Regions from separate parts of the Homo sapiens genome. Here region 2 is linked to region 1. Evidence: promoter capture Hi-C in 16 types of primary human blood cells and fetal thymus (Javierre and others, 2016). All regions are on one chromosome and are shown on one strand. The core of a region is centred on a gene start or on the middle of the fragment in contact, and the rest is flanking DNA. Distances in the headings are between cores, read along the strand shown.

Evidence for each region. The method cuts DNA at HindIII sites, captures the fragments that hold promoters and counts their contacts. A CHiCAGO score of 5 or more calls a contact.
Region 2: a fragment that was not itself captured here is called in contact with the fragment with the promoter of FBXW4 in region 1 in 1 of 17 cell types (endothelial precursors); the score reaches 6.3 in endothelial precursors.

The regions. Positions count from the first base shown.
Region 1 is chr10:101,693,608-101,697,112 of GRCh38, reverse strand. FBXW4 (F-box and WD repeat domain containing 4) reads left to right here and starts at 1,943. Exons shown (of 9, transcript NM_022039.4): 1 at 1,943-2,732. The coding sequence starts at 2,008. RefSeq lists silencers at 1,774-2,053, 2,084-2,133, 2,414-2,873 and an enhancer at 3,184-3,263. The HindIII fragment of the contact is 5,074 bases long and covers 1-3,206 here.
Region 2 is chr10:101,160,808-101,164,217 of GRCh38, reverse strand. No RefSeq gene overlaps it. Among named protein-coding and RNA genes, the nearest start is that of LINC01514, 14 kb to the left of the region's middle. The HindIII fragment of the contact is 3,083 bases long and covers 316-3,398 here.

The DNA of each region.
Region 1 (3,505 bases), core at 694-3,193:
CCATTAATGAAAATAAAGTAAATTACACTTGCATGATTATGGATTTTAATCCTGATTTATGTTGGGTTAAAGAAGTTTTAGTGCCTCCACTAAAAATGAGATAGAATATAGATGAACTACTCAGCTTTACTATGTATCCTGAATGAGTTAAGTACTCAAACAGTAAGAAATTACAAACATCTCTAACACAAATCTAAACACAAAATGCAGGAACCATATTCCTGCTATATCATTTGTCTTCCTTCTTGATTCGCTCATAGTACACAAATGTAGCAAAATCAATAAATATTGAACTCATGACATCACCTAAATGTGAAGTATTCCTGCCTTAGTAGTCTTCTAACAGTATGGTACCTGTGAATAAGTAAATTTCTTTATAATGATCTCTAAAACATGGCTTAAATTCTTTGGCCGCATTGAAATCTATAAAATAGTGCTTTCAATAAACCACTGCCTTGAGTTTGGAAATCGTTTTCTACACAAAGTCTTTGTTGCATTTGGAGAGGGGGAGGGATGGCATTTTTTTGTAACAGGATTTGACCTGTAACTATTATTAAGAATTTTCTTAGAGGAGTTCAAAGCATTTTACAGGGATCATCTCATTTATCCCTCGAAAGTAAGGCAGAGGCATTATCTCCACTACAGATTGAGAACACTAAAAGGCCAAGATAGGTGGGGCTTTTTGTTGTTGTTTTGCTAAGATCAAAAAGTAATTCTAGGGCAAAGCCAGATTCCGGTCTGACCTTGTTACATGATGCTTCTTGCAGCACCATAATACAATGTAGTTGCTTCCCTAGGTTTCTCTTTGGCTATGCTAGGTGTTGAATAATTTTCAGGGTCAATTTTTATTCTTCCCTGCTCCCTGAAAATGAGTGTTAAGATGTAGATAAGTACAAAAGAAAACTCTCCAATCCTTCCTACCTGGATTTGGAGTACAGGATAAACAGACAGAAATTGGCATCTTCCTCCCCTCCTCCAAGTTTTACTGCCTAGCCCAATGCTAATAGAAAAATAACCCGAGCCACAAATGCAAGTCCCATGTATAATTTTAAATTTTCTAGTAGTTACATTAAAATATATTGTATTTAGCCCAATACAGCGTATCCAAAATATTAACACTTCAACACGTAATCAATATAAAATTATTAATGAGATATTTTGCATTCTTTTTTTTGTATGGCTTCAAAATCTGGTGTGCATTTCTCACTTATAGCTCATTTCAATTTGTATTAGCCACATTTCAAATGCTCAGCAGCCACATGTGACGAGGGAGGACACTGTTGGACAGCACAGGTCTAGACCTCAGTAGCTCTCCCTTCAGATTAATGCCATGTGAATCGAATGGGTGGTATGAAGAATGGATGCTGAGTCCTTGGAGAATCCACTTGCACTTGGGTGGTGACTGATAAGAAGCCCTAGCTGTGCCATTTCCTGATACATGACTGTTTTTGAAGTTATGGACTCAGGATCTAGAAGACTGCAAATCCCCAAATACGTCTAACACCCAAGCTCACGCCAGGACCGTGCTTCCGGGCCTGTGTGAGAACCTAAGCTATGGAACCTGTCAACTTCTAGGGCTGCAGATTCGTTGGGCCCTCACATGTGGCCCGTGGAAAGGAGGCATCACTCGAGGAAGAGGAGGGCTTCTAGAGGGGCAAGGCCACCCAACTAGGGGCTTCTTGAGGGCAGGTGCTCCAAATGGCCGCTTCCTGAGGGCAGCGGGTCCTCTTGTGGCCTCAGGCAGGGCCCTGAAACCGGCCTCACGTGTTTGCAGCGCGAACTCCTGTGCTTCCACCAAGCGCTCTCGGGGATGCGGGGGTGGTGTCAGCGCCCCGGCCCCAGCCCGCACCCCGAAGTGGCTCCAAGGCTGCAGGTGTGAGGGGCGTGCCCAGGGCTCGGCCCGCGCCGCCCCATGTGACCCGGTCCGACATGGTGTCGCCTCCTCCCGGGGCGGCGGCGGTGGCGGCTCGGGCTGGGCTCCGCGTCGGGCCGGCCCCGCGGCCGCTCATGGGCAGCCAGGGCCGCTCGGGGCCCCCCGGGAACGGCGGGCCCGGCGAGGGCGAGGGCGGAGAGGCGAGGAAGCTGCAGGAAGGGAGGGTGGCGAGGGGGAAGCGAAGGAAGGGGAAGGGGAAGGGAAAAGCGAGAGCGGGGCAAGGCGGAAGAGGAAGCGGGGCGGAAGGGAAGCCCGGGCCGCAGACGGCGAAGGAGGCAGCCGGGCCGGGGGCTGACGCGGGAGCGAGGGCATGCCCAAGGGAGGAAGCAGAGGGAGGCAGAAGCGTGGAGGAAGGGGCGAGAGGCATCGTCAAGGGAGTCGAGGGGAGCGCAGGGGCCGGGAAGGAGGCACAAGGAAGAGAGTATGGGAAGAAGGAGGAATGGAGGGTCAGGGCTAGGCGGCGGGAGGGCGCCAGGCCGGGAAGAGCACAGGGACGAGGGGGTCAGGCTTGGGCCGACATCGCGGGGACAGGGGTGGCCATGGCGGCGGCGGCCGGGGAGGAGGAGGAGGAGGAGGAGGCGGCTCGGGAGTCGGCTGCCCGCCCGGCCGCGGGGCCTGCGCTCTGGCGCCTGCCGGAGGAGCTGCTGCTGCTCATCTGCTCCTACCTGGACATGCGGGCCCTCGGCCGCCTGGCCCAGGTGTGCCGCTGGCTGCGGCGCTTCACCAGCTGCGATCTGCTCTGGCGCCGGATAGCCCGGGCCTCGCTCAACTCCGGCTTCACGCGGCTCGGCACCGACCTGTAAGCGTCCGCTCGCCCGCCCGCTCCCCGCCCCGAGCCGGCCCCGCGTCCCGGGAAAGGGCGGGGCGCCGCGGCCTGGTCGGCCCAGGGTCGTGTCGCACCCCGAGTTTCTAGGCCTACACCTGACCTCCGCCTACACCCTTTCCCGAGCACTCTCGGGGACCCCTTTGCCCCTCCTCCCCAAGGCCTCCATCTGAGGCAGCCTCCCGAGAGCATCCCTCAGTAGGCACCCTCCCGGGTGGGCCGCTCCTCACAATTAGCCATCTTAGGCACTCCCTACAGCTTTCGATTGTGTGTTTTTGCAGAGGTTTAGCTGCCCCGGTTCCTTCGCCCCAGAGGAGCCAGTCTGGTACGGTGCTTTGGACGATTCCTTGAGTCCAGGTCTAGGACTCAGGTTCCTTAAGTGGTCTATCATAAATTTTTGTGGACTTTCATCTTTCATCCTCCCTACCCTTTTCTAAAGGTTGTTAAGCTTCAGGGCTCGGACCTTAAGAGAAGCCCTCGGTCCCAGTGTTCAGCCATAGTTTATGACTTCATATAGGCAGAGCGACACGAAAAAGGGGGCCTGCTTGAGGCAGGAGGCTGGAGTCTGTCCAGGATGTGTACAAGACATGGTATTGCAATTTGGCCTGTTTTTGGTAGGGTCTGAGACCTGTGAATGAAAAACTTTTCTGAACCACTTAAACTGTTAAATAGGAAGGAAAAAACATGTAGGGAATTGGGGGAATAAGAGCTTTCAGATTGCCCCCTATTCCACCCATTTTTTAAAAAGT
Region 2 (3,410 bases), core at 608-3,107, 530 kb after region 1:
AGCTTATTGAATATGTATATTTGGCCACCCTACTCAGCATAAATTCTTGTCTTATTCTTCCCATCCTTGACCCTTGAAGTGCCTGTTTCTGGCTTCTGGCCAGAGGCTACACTTCCCAGCCTGTCAGAACGGCTGGCAGGCTGCAATGCTCTATGAGAAATAAAGCACTCCTTTCCAAATGTCTGAACCTCTTCATTCTTCAGTTGACATATACATATATCAAAACTTCAAGTTGTACACCTTAAACATATACAATTTTTATTTGTCAATTATTCCTCAGTAAAGCTGGGAGAAAAAAGGTTCACATGGTAAGCTTATGTGGTGTCTAATTTTCCACAATAAAAAAAATAAAATCATCCCACAATGTCAAAGGAAAGGAGGAAGTCATAAAAGAATATATGTAGTATAATTCCTCTTGTAGGAATTTTGAAAACATACAAACACACTATATTCAAAAAGAATGCTTCCGCAAAGAGTAAAACTATAAAGAAAAACAAGGAAAACTTCACCATAAGTGAAGATCATAATTGTATGTAGGGAGAAAGGAGGGGCTGATGGGGAAGGGATATACAGAGAGATCCTGGGGTGCAGATAATGTTTTCCTTCCCTCCCTCCCTCCCTCCCTCCCTTCCTTCCTTCCTCCCTCCCTCCCTTCCTTCCTCCCTCCCTTCCTTCCTTCCTCTCTCCCTCCCTCCCTTCCTTCCTCCCTCCCTTCCTCCCTCCCTTCCTTCCTTCCTCTCGCTCTCTTTCTAAACAGGGTCTCACTCTGTCACCCAGGCTGCAGTGCAGTAGCATTATCATAGCTCACTACAACTTTGATGTTCTGTTTCTTGATCTGTCTGATAATGAAAATATTCATTTTTTAAAAATTTTAATTTATTTTTTATTTTTGAGAAGGGATCTTACCATGTTGCCCATGCTGGACTTGATCTTCTGGGCTCAAGTGACCGTCCCGCCTCAGCCTCCCTAGTAGCCGAGACTACAGGTGTGTGCCACCATGCACTGCTTGCAACTCAGTGAAGTAATTTTTACTGAGGGGCAAACTGCAGTTCATATAGGGCACCTTTGGGATGGCCTCAGTCCCCTTCTAAAGGTGGATAAATCATCAGTTGGTTGTAACGTGTTCCTGATGGAACCCATGCCAAGAAGATGAAGGCCCTGGTCACTCTTGGCCCAGGAGGCTGCCCTCTATCTGCCATGTACGGAGCTGGGCACACGGGAGGTCTTGATCCTGCTTCCTTGAGGGGGCAGATGGTGACCCAGTAAATGACTGGAGAAGCCCTCCAATGTCTGTGCTTCCCCACTGGAAATCCCTCCCCTGTCCCTTTTCTGACCTTGTCAGTTCTCAACCTCAGCCAGACTCCTCTAGGGAGAGAGTTAGAAAGGGAGTGCCTGACTTCCTGCCAGCCCTGCCTGAACCCAGGTTTATCTCTTTGGCTTGAAGCCATCTGTCAGGAAACAGATCCCTCTCCTTTTCGGAGTTACCTGTATGTCAGCCTCAGTATGCACTTAAAGATCTTCCATGGGTGAGGGGAGGAAAGGAATAAGGTCGTTTGTGAGTATTTTTTTTTTTCCTGGGACACTGGTCCTTTCAACCATCCCATCAAGTAAGATGGTAGATCTTTTAATCTTTATATTTCATGGATGACAGCCATGGAGGTTATGTGGCTTACACAAGGTCAACAACAGAGTGAGGACGGGACAAAAGGTCTGTCTCACTCCAAAGCACGTGGCCATCAGATCCTTTCTGGAAGCCACTGGGGCAGAGATCATGGGGTTCAAAATGACAAGAGCACATTCCTAACTCAGGAAAGACATTTGAGGGAGAATGCCCCTTTATCCCATCTTGGAAAGGACTAGGGGCTTGGCTGGGGGTTAGCAAGTGCAGAGAAATGAAGCCTTTCTGGCCTGGAGGGTCCAGACGTGTCAGTAGCCAGTGCTCCAACCCCATTGGTGCTGCTCTAGGGGATGGGCCCTGTGGATGCCCAGAAGGAATGGGAAGAACCAGGAAGGATTAAAAGGACATGATCGGTGGCTACTTGGGTAATTGGCTCTATTCCCGAGAATTTAGAGGAAAGAATCCTCGGCTTTACGAGAAAACACTAGGACAAGGCTATCAGAGCCACTTAGGCTCTGGAACACACTACGCTTAGCAGGGGCTGCAAATGTCCGGGAGACGCTTCCTAACAACTTTGTAAGATGCAAGTAACCGATCTTTAGTGGAAACAACTGGTACCTTGCGGCACACGGCACAGGCGCTGAAACACACAATTACAGGGCACGAGCTCCCCCTTGTGGCCATTCAGGGTGATAGCAGCCCTGAACTCAGGCATCTGGGGGAATTCCTTCCTCTGAACACTGGGAACCGATGGAGCACACACAATGTGTTGGGCCCTGGCTAAGCCATTTACATCCCACCTTCACAACAGCTCCTTTTCACCGGCGCTTGCCTTCCACTCTCCACTGTCAGGTGCTAGCTGAAGCTAGCTTACTTCCTCCCAGACGTCCCGCTGACCCCAGCCCCTGGGTCAAGTGCTTTGCACTTCTACAAAGGTTGGCTGTCTCTCCAGCACGTGTTGCACTTTAGTCTGATGAGTTTATTTAATTGTCTTCACCTATGGACCCTCGTTTCTTCAGGCAGCTTGGCTCTCCTTTACATACCTAGCAGAGAGAAGGGGCTGAATGAATGTTTGTCAAATGAATAAATGATGAATGAGAGAGCATTCCTGCATGCAGAGCTTGGTTACAGGGGCACCTAAATGAATAGCCCAGAGCATGCATTGCCCAAGGCTACACTCACTTTAGAGAGAATGTCTGCAAAGATCACTAACCTCACAATCACAAGCAGTTTCCCTTGGAAAATACCAAATGACTACAGGTTATATTCCTTCATATTTCTGCCCTTCCCTTACTGGTAAGATATAGAGAGAGTGGAAACATGGGGGAATTCTGTGCCCTGTGTGGTGAATTTTATGACATAACTGTCTGGAGTCCCTGCAGGTCTTGGGTGTGGTCACTGAAGTCAGGAAAGAGGGTCCATTGGATAACATCACCCAGCAAGTGAACCCTGAGAGGGTGTGTGAACCTGCTGGCTGACTTGGGGCCAACGTCAGTGGGGTCAGGGGTCACACTGTCTGTCTCTCAGTGTGTTACCTTCTGTGAGGTTTTAATGAGTGACCTTGGCCTCTCCCAGCCAGAGGTTTCTCCCCATTCATCATCTGGTGGAGATGGCAGCAGTACCAACAAAACTCCAGCTCCCCAAGTGCTACAGAAGCAACTTCTGCATCCTCTCAGGGCGCTGGGAAGACGTCCAGCAGTCATCGTTACAGAGGAAGATGGATGTGGCAGGGCTGGGATGGCAGTCCAAGTCTGCAGTTCCAAATGTGTGCTCTTAAGCTTTTTTGAATAAA